2 separate regions of the Homo sapiens genome follow, and region 2 is linked to region 1. The links are contacts of gene promoters, found by promoter capture Hi-C in human tissues and cell types (Jung and others, 2019). All regions are on one chromosome and are shown on one strand. The core of a region is centred on a gene start or on the middle of the fragment in contact, and the rest is flanking DNA. Distances in the headings are between cores, read along the strand shown.

Region 1 (7,463 bases), core at 3,606-6,105:
AGAAAGCTTTGCCTGCCACCTTCAGGCTGGGTGCAGTGGCTCATGCCTGTAATCCCAGCACTTTGGGAGGCTGAGGCGGGCAGGTTGCCTGAGGTCAGGAGTTTGAAACCAGCCTGGCCAACATGGTGAAATTCCGTTTCTACAAAAATACAAAAATTAGCTGGGCGTGGTGGCATGTGCCTGTAATCCCAGCTACTCTAGAGGCTGAGTTGGAAGAATCGCTTGAACCTGGGAGGCAGAGGTTGCAGTGAGTCAAGATAGTGCCATTGCACTCCAGCCTGGGTGACAGAGTGAGACTCAGTCTCAAAATAAAATAAAATAAAATAAAATAAAAAACTAAATAAAAAGAGGCTGGGTGCGATGGCTCACACCTGTAATTCCAGCACTTTGGGAGGCCGAGGTGGGCGGATCATCTGAGGTCAGGAGTTCAAGACCATCCTGGCCAACGTGGTGAAACCCCCTTTTTTTTTTTTTTTTTGAGACAGAGTCTCACTCTGTCACCCAGGCTGGAGTGCAGTGGTGTGATCTCAGCTCACTGCAACATCTGCCTCCTGGGTTCAAGAGATTCTCCTGCCTCAGCCTTCCAAGAAGGTGGGACTACAGGCGTGTACCAACATGCCTGGCCAATTTTTTGTATTTTTAGTAGAGATGGGGTTTCACTGCAGAAACCCTGTTTTTACTAAAAATACAGAAATTAGCTGGGTGTGATGGCGGGCGCCTGTAATCCCAGCTGCTTGGAAGGCTGAGGCAGGAGAATCGCTTGAACCCGGGAGGCGGAGGTTGCAGTGAGTGGAGATCGCGCCACTGCACCCCATCCTGGGCAATAGGAGTGAAACTCCGTCTTAAAAAAATAATAATAATAAATAAATAAAAAGAAAAATATTTAGCGCTAAATACTTAACAACATAGCAAATAATTTGGGAGAGTAAGTAATTGAAGATAATAGAGTGCTCTTAATACAACTAGAGAATATAACTTCCAAAAGCAGAAGGAGAAATGTCCATTTATGTGATGTTAAAAAATGTAAAACTAAACAGTAGATTGTTTAGGATTTATGCATAGATTTTTTTTTTTTTGAGACGGAGTCTCGCTTTGACACCCAGGCTGAGGTGCAGCAGCACATCTTGGTTCACTGCAAGCTCCGCCTCCCAGGTTCACGCCATTCTCCTGCCTCAGCCTCCTGAGTAGCTGGGACTACAGGCGCCCGCCACCACGCCCTGCTAATTTCTTTTTGTATTTTTAGTAGAGATGGGGTTTCACTGTGTTAGCCAGAATGGTCTTGATCTCCTGACCTCGCGATCCGCCCGCCTCGGCCTCCCAAAGTGCTGGGATTACAGGCATGAGCCACCGTGCCCAGCCAAGTTTTTGTATTTTAGTAGAGACGGGGTTTCACCATGTTGGTCAGGATGGTCTCGATAGCTTGACCTCGTGATCTGCCCACCTCGGCCTCCCAAAGTGCTGGGATTACAGGCTTGAGCCACCGTGCCCAGCTAATTTTCGTATTTTTGTAGAGAATGGGGTTTTACCATGTTGGCCAGGCTGCTGTTGAACTCCTGACCTCAGGTGATCCAGCCGCCTAGGCCTCCTAAAGTGCTGGGATTACAGGTGTGAGCCACCGCGCCTGGCCAGAGCTTGCAGAGACTTTAGTAGGCTGGGCAGCTCCCCTCTCTCCCTTTTTTTCCCCTTCCCCCTCTCCTATTCCTTGGGAGTGAACTGGTTTTCTCTGGGAGCTCTGCCTGGGGCTTGGCAGGGAGCCGGGCCTATGTGTATCTATCTGGGAGGCCAATTTCTGAGCCACAGCAGAGAGGCATCGGCTGACCACAGTGTAGGGATAGAGCATTCCTGCAGCTACAGGGTTCTTGGGGGTAGCTACAGGTGATTGGCACTGCCTATCAAGTGTGATCACAAACACACACACCCATACTCACATACAGACGTATACATATGCATACACACGTCACTGTTTCCTTGGCTCTACATCTTCTTTCTGTGTTAGCCCCTTTGCACACATCACTCCTTTCCCTACTTCCTTCCTTCCTGTTATATCCACAGGAAACTGTCCCCCAGAGGAGAAGCCCTCTCTTAGGGCTCTTTCTCAGTAAGTTTGTCTGGGCCTCATTAAGTCTTTTTTAAGCAGGGCAGTACGTGGGGGGACTTTTAAGGATCTGGTTCCAGGCTTTGGTCTTGGGAAAGGAGCTTCAATTCCCTGCTGGTCTCTTGCCTCCTGCCAGGTCTGTCCTCCCCTCCCTTCTCTACCATTGGAGTGAAGCTTCCACAAGCCAAGTAGGCTGTAGTTATTTATCACAAGTGCTTACCCCAAATTCCTCAGGCTGTCCTACAATCTTTAAGCACAGTCATACTTTTAAGATATCAATGCTTATATACAATGCTATATTCCTTCCCTGCCTCCCTTCTCTCCTTCCTTCCTCTCACTTTCTTTTATTTATTTTTGAGACAGGGTCTTGCTCTGTCACCCAGGCTGGAGTGCAGTGGCATGATTGTGGCTCACAGCAGCAGCCTCAAACAGGCCTCCTGCTGCAGCTTCCTAAGTAGCTGGGAGTACAGGTGCACATTACCACGCTTGGCTAATTTCTTTATTTTGTAGAGATGGAGTCTCGTGAAGTTGCCCAAGTGGTCTCAAACTCCTAGCCTCAAGTGATCATTCCTCCTCGGCATCCCATATATATATGTATAAAAGACCCTGGGTTCTTTTTTTAAAACCTGTGTCTCTCCTGTTTTGACACCTACCACTCTAACTTAAAACAATTCCTTTTTTTTGTTGTTGGTTTTTTTTTTTTTTTTTTTTGAGACGGAGTCTCACCCTATCACCCAGGCTGGAGTGCAGTGGTGCAATCTCTGCTTGCTGCAATCTCCGCCTCCCGGGTTCAAGTGATTCTCCTGCCTCAGCCTCCTGAGTAGCTGGGATTATAGGTGTCTGCCACCACGCCCGGCTAATTTTTTTATATTTTTAGTAGAGATGGGGTTTCACCATGTTGGCCAGGCTGAGTCTCAAACTCCTGACCTCGTGATCTACCTGCCTCGGCCTCCTAAAGTGCTGGGATTACAGGCATGAGCCACCATACCTGGCCCCCTCTTTTTTTTCTTGATGGTATCTTATGTGGAGGATTTTACCCAAAAGTTCAGGGAGGCTAAACACTGGTGTAGTCCTACTTATTTATTGCTCAACATATCCCAGCTAGGAATGGAGGATAGAGACAAGGAGCAGGTATGAAGGCCAGTTGAGCTGTGTGATGTGGTGGATTTTTCAGATTACAATCATGCTTTACCTCTGTATTTGTCAGCTGTCTAGCAGAGTGGTTCAGTGCCCAGGCACTGGTGTCAAACAGGCCTGGGTTTGAATCGCAGCTCTTCCTCACTCATAAATGTGTGACCTAGGCCAATTAGACTAAATCCAAGTTTTCCCTTCTGTATAATAGGGGTGCTCTTTTTTCTTGCTCTGTCACCAAGGCTGGAGTGTGATGGTGCAATCACAGCTCACTGCAGCCTGGACCTCCAAGGCTCAAGCGATCCTGCCACCTCAGCTGTGATTACAGGTGTGAGCCACTGTGCCCAGCTGGGGGTGCTCTTAGCTACTCCAGGAGGCTAATGTAAAGATAACACTTGGAAAATATTCTGCCAGCCCTAGGTAAGAGTAAGCATTCACTAAATGAAAGTGATTATTTCTATAGAATAGGGAGTCACAGTTTACCACGTGTTTTCACATTGATTTAATCCTCACACCAGCCCAGTGAAGTAGGTATTATTATGATCCACATTTTACAGATGAGGAAATTGAGGCCTAGAGCAGTGACGTGAGGGGACCAAAGTCGACTTGGAGCTAACAGAGGCAGCAAAGATTAGAAACCATGTCTCCAGTCGCCCAGACCCAGAGCCCCACCTTGCAACCCTCTTCCCACACACCAGTTCTGTTTTTTTTCTGCCAGGCCTCAAAGTGTGGGACTTCAGGCTTTTCTATACTCGACTGTGAACACAGCCAGGGGTTAATCTCTTAAACTTCCCTCCAGTTTTGAAGTGGGGATCCTGCCCACACCTCCCCCAAGCCCTAAGCGGTGTCGGTAGCGGTCTCCTCCAGGGGGCGGGGCCTGTCATCTTTAGAAGCCACGCCAGCGATAAGCCACGCCCACAGACCAAAGCCTCGACCCCCACCCCCCATCCCCCGCCCTCCCCGATAGGAAACCAACTTCTTCCTCAGCTCCCCAACTAGCAACTGTGCCCGCAAGGTCTCTCGCGGCTCAGCATCTACCTTTTTTTTTTTTTTTTTTTTTTGACACAGGGTTTCGCTCTGTCACCCAGGCTGGAGTGCAGTGGCGCGATCGCGGCTTACTGCAGCCTCGAGCTTCTGGGCTGTCATCTAGGCCTCCCAAAGTGTTGGGATTACAGGCGTGAGCCTCCACGCCCAGACGGTGTCTACCTCTTAAACTCAAGCCTTGGAGTCCAACGCTCTACCATACGCAGCCCAGCCCTCCGCCATATGCAGCCCAGCCCGATGCCCAGTGCTTCGCACCAGGATACGTGGTTCTGTCTCTTTTTCATGCGCTCCCACGTCCGGGAGTTACAGTCCCGGCCCTCGATGGGCATTCCGAGCGCCGAGCCCCCTGCGCGGGCTCACTGGGTTCCGCCCCCGACGCGAAGCCCCGCCCCCTGACGCCCCGCCCAGCACCACGCCTCCCGGGCTTTCGCCTTACTTAGTGGCCCGCCCCGCCGCCCTTCTGACCCACCCCGCTAGGTAGTCCCACACGGCGGCCCTCGGCTCCCGGGCCCCGCCCCGGCCTCCTGCATTTGCCCGAGGCCCCCTCCCCAGCACTGGCCACACCCCAGGGTAGCCCCGCCCCCAGAGCTCCTCCCCCAGCGGCCGGGGTAGGGTGGCGGCTGGCCCAGCCGGGCCCCCGCTGCCCTCTGCCCTGGGCGCTTGGTCGGAGCGGGCTGGGCAAAGCGGGACAGGGCGAGCGCGGCGGCCCGGGGGCTCGGAGGCGAAGATGGCGTCCGGCAGGCGCGCCCCGCGCACCGGGCTGCTGGAGCTGCGCGCCGGGGCGGGCTCGGGGGCCGGCGGCGAGCGATGGCAGCGGGTGCTGCTGAGTCTGGCGGAGGACGTGCTGACCGTGAGCCCCGCCGACGGCGACCCTGGTCCCGAGCCCGGCGCTCCGCGGGAGCAGGAGCCCGCGCAGCTCAACGGCGCCGCGGAGCCGGGCGCCGGGCCCCCGCAGCTGCCAGAGGCGCTACTGCTCCAGCGGCGCCGCGTGACGGTGCGCAAGGCCGACGCCGGTGGGCTGGGCATCAGCATCAAAGGTGGGCGCGGGACACCGAGGGCGCGGGGTCGTGGTGTCTGGGGGCAGCCGAGGGCGCAGGGGGCTGGCAGCGCGCCCAGGACATGGAGCTGGAGGCTTCCTGTCTGGGGGTAAGGGGGGTCTGAGGAAACAGGTAACGGAGGGCACTGGGCACACCAAGGTTGGAGGGGGTTTCAGTAGTTGGTGGCCTTAGGGGGCACGGAAGACACAGGTGTGGATAAGATTGTGGGAGCACCAAGGACACGTGGGTGGGAGTTCTGTGTGGAGGCGGGGGGGTCTGAGGGGTAACCAGCATGAACATCAAGGACAAGAGGGGTCCCCCGGAAAGCAGAGTGTGGAGAAAGGGGGTTGAGGCCGGGACACCAGTGGGACAGGGAGGAGGGAGTCCCTGAGAAGCAACCAAGGTGGGTGCAGAGGGGAAGCCTGGAGTCTGGGAAGCACAGGGGTGGATAGGAGGCCTGGGTGCAGGCACAGGCTGGGGTCACAGGCAGAAGGCCAGCAAGGACCTAGGAATCTAAGGACCCAGGAAGGCTGCAGGGAGCCCTGACAGCTGGATTTGGGTCTCCTGATCTGACTATCTCCACCTTGCACAGGATAGAGCTTTCAGCCCCCAGGACTGACCGCTAGTGGGGTGCAGTTAGGGTGCAACCAGACTGTGTTTGAATCCAGGATCAGCTGTGTGAGGTTGCAAAAGTCCCGTCCCGCCTCTGAATCTGTTTCCTCAACTGTATAAGAGGATGACAGAGTTGTGATGTTTCTGAGAGCAGGGCTCACCACACCAGCACACTGTAGGTGCCTAGTTAATTACTGCTGTTAGCGGAGAGGAAAAATGGAGGCCAGCAGATACTCCCAAAGCAACTAAACATAGTTGTTAAAATCCTTGCACACCCCCAGCTGCTGGGTTCACTATTCCTGCCCATCTGTTTCTCAGGGTCCCAGCCCCCAGCAGGTGCTTTGGGAAAGGGTATCAGCCTTTGTCTCCACCTTGAATACATACCGTACCCTCTGGGGTCTCCCTGGTACTGGTTCTGTTGACTAGTGCCTCCAGACCGTTTGGCTTGGCTGAGGCGGTGGGGATGGTGGTGAATGCCACCACTGTGTGCCAGGTGCTGTGCCCAGGACACTAGTCTCATGATCCACTTCATCCTGGCAACAAGTGGTGAAAGGTAGGGAGTATAATTCCCATATTGCAGGTGAAGAAACTGAGACTCAGAAAGTTAAAATGATTTTCCCACGATTACATAGTGAGTGTCAGTGCTGGGATTTGAACCTTAATTATCAGCTACTGTCCCTCAGAGAGTGCTCAGGGAAGTTGATTCTTTCCTGTAGAAGGGCAGATCCCCAGGCAGCCAACCAAGAGGGGCTAAAAAGGAGAAATGAGAAAATGAGGGTATGGGCACCAGTCTTACCCCCAATCTCCAGCATGGGATAGGGCAACAGATGAATCCAAAAATTATACACTCAGTGTGTCAAAGCAGGAAGGAACTTATTCATACAGAATTCCATTCTGCAGATGGACACACTGAGACTCAGAGAGGAGCAGGGACTTTGCAAGGTCACACAAAGTTACTCCCCAGCTCCATAATTCTAGGTGGAGGGGAGGGTACTTTTAGGAGACTTCAGGTATTTCCATTGGATCCAAATCTGGGCTCCTGTTGCCATGGTAACCCCTCCTATAAAGTCTAGCTTAGTCTGAGGCAGCCATGAGTGATCATAGCTTCAAACTGAACTGAAGCCCCTAGTTTCAGGTGGGGGAGGGCAGATATAAATAGAAACCCCTTCCTCTCCTAGACTTCAAGCTCTGTGCAGATAAGCAAACGGTCGGGCCTGTGTGGGCGTCAAGAGAGGTGTTCCAGTCCCAGCTCCGCCACCAGACTTGTGTGACCTTGGAACAATGACCTCCCACTCTGGGCCACTAATTCTTCATCTTCAGTATTCTGGGGATGAGCCAGGAGTGTGATATCTGAGGGCCTGACTTGTCGTCTGTGGTAGGGCTAATAGTGTTGGTTCTGGAGCCTGGAGGCCTAGGTGCAAATACTGGCTTCGCTACTTACTAGTGGAGTGACCTTGGACAAGGGGCTTCCCTCCACACTTCAGTTTCCCTAATAGGAAACTGAACATACCTATGTGATGGGGTATTGTAAAGACGCAATGAAT
Region 2 (7,463 bases), core at 3,402-5,901, 42 kb after region 1:
CATCAGCAGTCTGGTGCCTTCACTTGGAACACCACCCTCCGCCCTATTTTTTGTTTTGGAGGTGGGGTCTCGCTTTGTTGCCCAGGCTGGAGTGCAGTTGCGGGATCCCAGCTTACTGCAGTCTCGGCCTCCCAGGCTCAAGTGATCCTCCTACCTCAGCCTCCCAAGTTGCTAAGACTATAGGACTGTGCCACCATGGCTGGCTAATTTTTTATTTTTTAATTTGTTGTAGAGATGGGGTCTTGCCATGTTACTCAGGCTGGTCTCACACTCCTGAACTCAAGCAATCCTCCTGTCTTGGCCTCAAGCAATTCTCTTGCCTCAGCCTCCTGAGCAGCTGGGATTACAGGCGCTCGCCACCATGCCCGGCTAATTTTTTTGTATTTTTAGTAGAGACGGGGGTTTCACCATGTTGGCCAGGCTGGTCTTGAACTCCTGACCTCAGGTGATCCGCCTGCCTCGGCTTCCTAAAGTGCTGGGATTACAGGTGTGAGCCACTGCGCCTGGCCATAATTTTTGCATTTTTATTAGAGATGTGGTTTCACCATGTTGGCCAGGCTGGTCTCGAACTCCTGACCTCCAGTGATCTTCCCACCTTGGCCTCCCAAAGTGCTGGGATTACAGATATGAGCCACTGTGCCTGGCCACTATATGTATATTTCTACATCTAGAATGAGATTTATCATAAGGAATTGGATCAAGTGATTATAGAGGCTGAGAAGTCCTACAATTTGCCATCTGCAAGCTGCACACCGAGGAAAGGTGGTGGTGTAAATTCCAGTTTGAATCTAAAAGACTGAGAATCAGGAGTGCCAATGGTGTTTAAGTCCCAGTCCAAGGGCAGGAGAAGACCAATGTCTCAGCTTAAGCAGTCAGGCAGACAGAGAATTCAACCTTGCTCTGTCTTCCTGTCCTATTTGGGTCCCCAAGGGGTTAGATGATGTCCATCCAGATTGTGGAGGGTAGTCTACTCTACTCAGTCCACCAAAGCTAATCTCTTCCTCAAGAAACACCCAGAAATAACGTTTAACTAGATATCTGGGCAACCTGTGGCCCAGTCAAGTTGACACAAATAATTAACCAGCACAGTGTTCTGCATTATTTCCCAGTGTTCTCCAGCAGGATTAAGACCTAGATGCCTGCAAGAAAGTTGCTTGTTAACAATGTTTATTGGCTGTCTCCCCTCCCTGTTTCACTCCCCTACTACCCTACCAGTGTTTCCTGAGATTACTTTGCAAATCAACTACCTGCACTCAAATACTTGTCTCAGTAGCCGGGCACAGTAGCTCATGCCTGTAATCCCAGCACTTTGGGAGGCCAAGGTGGGTGGATCACCGCAGGTGGGGAGTTAGAGACCAGTCTGGCCAATATGGTGAAACCCTGTTTCTACTAAAAATACAAAAATTAGCCGGGTGTGGTGGCGCTTGCCTGTAATCCCAGTTACTCAGGAGGCTGAGGCAGGAGAATCGCTTGAACCCGGGTGGTGGAGGTTGCAGTGAGCCAAGATTGGGCCACTACACTCCAGCCTGTGTAACAGAGTGAGACTTGGTCTAAAAAAAAAAAAATACTTGTCTCAGGTCTGCTTCTGGGGAGCCCAAACTAAGACAGAAAGCAGTCATTTATTCATTCAACAAATTTTCATTAAGCCCTTCTATGAGTCAGACCCTGTGTAGATCATGGGGATAAAGCCATGAACAAGACACGACGTGTCCCTCCCTAGCTGATAGTCCAGGGAATAGGCAATGATAAGAAAATAAGTAATGCCAACATTTTGAATAGTGACAAATATGGTGAAGAAAATAATAAGAGAAGTGATAGAGTAGTTTATATGAAGTGGTCAGAGAGGGTCTCTCTGAAGAGCTGATATTTATGCTGAGACCTAAAGGATGAGAAGGGGCCAGCCACGAAACAATTTTGGAGAAGAGCATTCCAGAAAGATAATAGTAAGAAGAGAAGCTCTGTGGGCATGGTGTTGCGTGCCTGTAATCCTAGCTACTTGGGAGGCTGTGGCAGGATAATTGCTTGAACCCGAGAGGTGGAGGTTGTAGTGAGCCAACATCACGCCATTGCACTCCAGCCTGGGTAACAGAGCAAGACTCCGTCTCAAAAAAGAAAAGAAAAAAAAAAAAGGACAGAGGGTCTGAAATAAACATTTGCTTGGGTTATTGAAGGAGCAAGATAAAATTATGTAGTTGAAGTATAGTCAACTAGAAAGAACACAGTAGGAGAAGTAAGTGGTAAGAAGTACATGGGTTGGAGAAGTAAAAGTAAGCAGGGGGCCAGACATGGTGGCTCATGCTTGTAATTCCAGCACTTTGGCAGGCTGAGGTGGGAGGATCACTTGAGGCCAGGAGTTTGAGACCAGCCTGGCCAACATGGCGAAAACCCATCTCTAGTAAAAACAAAAATCAGCCGGGCGTGGTGGTGCTCGCCTCTAATCCTAGCACTTTAGGAGGTCGAGGTGGGCGGATCACTTGAGGCCAGGAGTTTGAGACCAATCTGGCCAACATGGTGAAACCCTGCTCTACTAAAAATACAAAAATTAGTTTGACGTGGTGGTGCACGCCTGTAATCCCAGCTACTCGGGAGGCTGAGGCAGGAGAGTCGCTTTAACCTGGGAGGCGGATGTTGCAGTGAGCCGAGATTGCACTACTGCACTCCAGCCTGGGCGACAGAGTGAGTGAGACGTCGTCTCAAAAAAAAAAAGCAGGGGCCACATCATGCAGGCCCCTAGGATACAGTAGGAAATCTGGATTTTATTGCACGGGCAATGGAAAGCTCTTAAGCTTTTTGTTTTTGTTTTTTTCTTTTCTTTTCTTTTTTTTTTTTTTTTTGAGATGGAGTCTTGCTCTGTCGCCCAGGCTGGAGTGCAGTGGCTCGATCTTGGCTCACTGCAATCTCCGCTTCCTGGGTTCAAGCAATTGTCCTGCCTCAGCCTCCCGAGTAGCTGGGACTACAGGCACGCGGCACCATGCCCAGCTATTTTTTATTTTTTATTTTTAGTAGAGACGGGGTTTTACCATATTGGCCAGGCTGGTCTCGAATTCCTGACCTCATGATCCACCCACCTCAGCCTCCCAAAGTGCTGGGATTACAGGCATAAGCCACCGTGCCCGGCTGTTTTTGTTTTTTTCTTTTTCAAGACATGGTCTCATTCTGGTACCCAGGCTGGAGTGCAGTGTTGAGGTCATGGTTCACTGCCGCCTCAACTTCCCTGGCTCAAGCAATCCTCCCTGCCTCAGCCTTCTGAGTAGCTGGGACCACAGGTACCCACCACCATGCCGGGGTAATTTTTGTGTTTTTTGTAGAGATGGGGTTTTATCATGTTGCTCAGGCTAGTCTAGAACTCCTGGGCTCAAGCAATCTGCCCATCTTGGCCTCCCAAAGTGCTGGGATTACAGATGTGAGCCACCACGCCCGGCCTGCCACGGAGAGTTTTCAGGAGAGGGGTGATATAATTTGATTTAATAAAACAAACACAAATTCCCTTAGGCTATGTGTGGGAAACTGTTCTCAGGAGACAAGGTGACCATTAGCAGGCTACTGTGATTGTTTCTGATGAGACAATGGTGGCCTGGGTAGTTGTAGCTACCGAGTAGACAGATTTGACATTTTGGAGTTAGAGTTGACAGGGCTTACTGACAGATAGAATGTGGGGATCCAGGGAGGTGAAGAAAATGACCATTCAGTTCCTCCTAGTGCACCTGGAAGGATGGTTGGGCCATTTACTGAGATGGGCCAGAATGACAGGTACAGGTTTTTGGTGAAGGTGCATGTGTGGAAATGAAGAGTTCTGTATAAGTTAGAGATGGTCATCAGACACTCAAGAAGGGGTGTCAAGTAGGCAGCTGAGCTATGGCTCTGGTACTGCAGGGAGGGTCCAGCTGGAGATGTGAATCAGGAAGTCATTAACCTACAGGGCAGCACCCTCCAATAGAAATAGAGCGTGAACCTCTTAGGTGACTTAAAATTTCCCAGTAAGGACCGGACACGGTGGCTCATGCCTACAATCCCAGCACTTTGGGAGGCCAAGGTGGGAGGATGGCTTGCGCCTAGGTAGGAGTTTGAGACCAGCCTGGGCAACATGGGGAGACCGGTCTCTACAAAAAAATTAAAAAAATTTTAGCTGGGCGTGGTGGCGCCTGCCTGTAGTCCCAGCCACTTGGGAGTGTGAGGTGGGAGGATTGCTTTAGCATGGGAGGCGGAAGCTGCAGTGAGCCATGATCACACCATATTATTTTTCCCCCTGCTAGCCACATTGAAAAAGTAAAAAGAAACAACAGGTGAACTTAATTCAAATATTTCTACCACCATAGCTACAAATAAAAAAAACTAATTCAACAAATGTACTTATTTAATCCAATATATCCCAACAATTATTGCAGCACATAATCAATATAAACATTATATATATGAACTATTTGACACTATTTGACATTTCTTCTTCCACATCCAGTGTATCTGACATTTAGCGCACATTTGATTTGCACTCACCCACTTTGAGGAGCTCAATTGCCGCTTAAGTCCGTGGCTAGTGGCTGCCCTAAAGTTCAGCACCGCCACGGAGCTTTGGGTCCACCCGGACTGTAAAAAGGAAGCACTTCCGTTAGCATGACCCGGCCTGAAGTAGCGGCGGAACGGAAGTCGCTTGTGTATGAACGCAGCGGCGGACCTGTGAGGGGATCCGACTTGCCGGCAGAACTTACGCTGCGGGACCCCGGGCACTGTTGCTGCTGCGGGAGGTGAGCAGCGCGGCCGCCGGGGTGGGCTGCGCACCCGCTTTTGACTGGCGCCTGGGGCAGGAGGGGCCGCGGATCCCGGGAAGCGCACGGTGTTCAAGAGGGAGGATGGCACGGTGGTTATGGCGTGGGGCCTGGCGTCAGGCTGTAGGGGTTCGTACCCTAACCCCGCCGCCTAACCCCGTGTGACCTTGGACAGGTCACCTCCACTTCTTTCAAGGCTTCGCTTCGCCACCCGTGAAGTGGGGTTGACAGTACAGCCTGCCTCACAGGGTTGCTATGAGGGTTATAGGTAATAATTCGCGGAAAATGCTTTGCACCATGCCTAACGCATTGTAACCAGCCAATAAAATGTTTGGGATGTTGTACGCTGTTGTTCCAGCCTCATTGCCGACTGTCAGAATTAATTTCGAGCCTCCAGAGAGGCTTCTACATTGCGTTATGCAAAGCATTTTGCTTGTATTATTGCATTTGATCCTACGGTAGGCTTATGGAGATAGGTGCTATTATCCCCATCTAGAGGCTCCCAGAGTTTAAGACAGGTGCCTAAGGTTTAGCTGGCTTGGCAGCAGTGGGGTCAGATTCTGACTCCAGGGTCCATACTTTTTTTTTCTTGAGACGGGAGTCTTGCTCTGTCGCCCAGGCTGGAGTGCAGTGACGCGATCTCGGCTCACTGTAGCCCCTGCCCCGCGAGTTCCAGCGATTCTCCTGCCTCAGCCTCCTGGGTAGCTAGGATTACAGGCGCATACCACCACACCCGGCTAAGTTTTGTATTTTTAGTGGAGTTCATACTCTTAACCAGGATGCTCTAATACTCTCTGTGAAAGGGGGTGTGGGCTGTAAATGTGCAGTTAGTGAACGCTTACTGTATCTCAAGTTGGGTTTTTAATATCTTATTCTTAATAACACTTATGGGGTGGTAGGTGCTGCTTTTATCCTTATTTTACACATGTGGAATTGGCGGCTCAGAGACAGAAATTTGTCTTGCCAAAGGTCACACAGCAATTATGGAGTAGAAAGGGGCGATTTTAAAGTTCACACTTTAAGGCTGTTCTTCTCTGACTCTTGAAACTGGGTTGGCATTGCTCCTAAGTGCTAGTAGCAGATGTGGCAGGTCATCTCATTGGAAAGGTAATGGGCCACATCTGCTCTTTACACGTGTATAGCAGGGTTCCCCTAACCCTAGGTGGTAGAATGGTACCTGTCTGTGGCCTGTGAGGAACCGGGTTGCACAGCAGGAGGTGAGCAGCAAAGCTGGCATTACTGCCTGAGCTCTGCCTCCCGTCAGATTGGCCACGGAATTAGTTTCTCAGGAACACAAACCCTATTGTGAACTGCGTATATGCAAGGCATCTAGTTTGTGCATTCCATTTCCTTTTTTTTGAGACAAGTTCTCTCTCTCTCTGTTGCCCAGGCTGGAGTGTGGTGGCGCAATCTCAGCTCACTGCAATCTCTGCCTCCCTGGCTCAAGTGATCCTCCTACCTCAGCTTCCCAAGTTGCTGGGATTACAGGCACATACCACAATGGCTGGCTAATTTTTTATTTTTTAATTTGTTGTAGAGACAACAAATAAACATGGTCTTGCCATGTTGCCCAGGCTGGTCTCGAACTCCTGAGCTCAAACAATCCGCCTGCCTCGGCCTCCCAAAGTGCTGGGATTATAGATGTCAGCCACCGCACTGGCTCAAGATTGCATGCTCCTTGTAAGAATCTAAATGCCTGAGGTGGAACAGTTTCAACACACCCCTGCTTCCATGTCTGTGGAAAAATTGTCTTCCATGAAACCAATTCCTAGTACCAAAAAGGTTGGGAACCACTGATGTTTAGCACCTGCCGTGAGGCAGCTACCACAATGGGAGATGGTGAAGGTGTAGAAATGAATGATACTTGTTCCCTGCTTGCAGGAACCTGCCAGTTTACTAGGGCTGGCAGAAGTGTCAGTAATAATTAACAGCAAAGTGTGATGAGTCTTGTGATGGAGAGATAGAATAGAGCTTTGGGAACCCAGAGGAGGACCCCACCTAGACTTCGGGGGTGATGGCCAGAGCAGGCTTCCCAGAGGAAGAAAGCTGAAAGTACCATAGGCCACTAGAGAGAAGATAAATACCAGCCAGAGAACAGCATGTGTAAAATCCTATAAGCTAGTGAAGATTAATACAAAGAAGTGTGGCATGGCTGGAGTGTAGTAGGCCATAGATGTGGGGTCCAGTAAAAATATATGGTGATCCTAGAATTCTTCCTTAGTCAGAAAATTAAAAAAAAAAAAAGTAAATAGTATGGCTTCATCTCCTATACCTTAGTCACCTAAGTCTTCCTGGGAGGCAACTATTGTTTCTTATGCATTCTAGAGATATTGTATGTACCTGCAAATAGGTACCTCAATATTCCCACCCTCTTTCCCCACAGATTCAACAGTAGTATAATGTAGGTAGCATGGAGCATATTGCTTCCTTGCCTTTGTCATGTATAGGTTCAGCCTCATTTATTTTTATTTTTATTTTTTTGAGATAGGGTCTTACTCTGTCACCCAGGCTGGAGTGCAGTGGTGCGATTATGGCTTACTGCAGCATTGATCTCCTGGGCTCAAGCAATCCTTTCATCTCAACCTCCTGAGTAGCTGGGACTACAGGTGTGCATCACTGTGCTCGGCTATTTTTTGTTATTTTTATAGAGATGAGGTCTCACTATGTTGCCCAGGCTGGTCTCGAATTCCTGGCTCAAGT

What was found. Contacts are between HindIII fragments. The study calls those that stand out against the background at their distance.
Region 2: a contact is called between the fragment with the promoter of CDK5RAP1 here and the fragment with the promoter of SNTA1 in region 1, in 1 of the 25 tissues and cell types used here (psoas muscle).

What each region holds. Positions count from the first base shown.
Region 1 is chr20:33,441,155-33,448,617 of GRCh38, reverse strand. SNTA1 (syntrophin alpha 1) reads left to right here and starts at 4,855. Exons shown (of 8, transcript NM_003098.3): 1 at 4,855-5,307. The coding sequence starts at 4,998. RefSeq lists enhancers at 3,850-3,909, 3,881-4,381, 4,360-4,429 and silencers at 4,660-5,139, 5,250-5,309. The HindIII fragment of the contact is 21,074 bases long and covers 1,139-7,463 here.
Region 2 is chr20:33,398,707-33,406,169 of GRCh38, reverse strand. It overlaps CDK5RAP1 (CDK5RAP1 mitochondrial tRNA methylthiotransferase), which reads left to right and starts at 4,651. Exons shown (of 14, transcript NM_016408.4): 1 at 4,651-4,742. LOC124904889 (a long non-coding RNA gene) reads right to left here and starts at 4,588. Exons shown (of 2, transcript XR_007067567.1): 1 at 4,495-4,588. RefSeq lists enhancers at 4,511-4,710, 4,851-4,940. The HindIII fragment of the contact is 17,720 bases long and covers 1-7,463 here.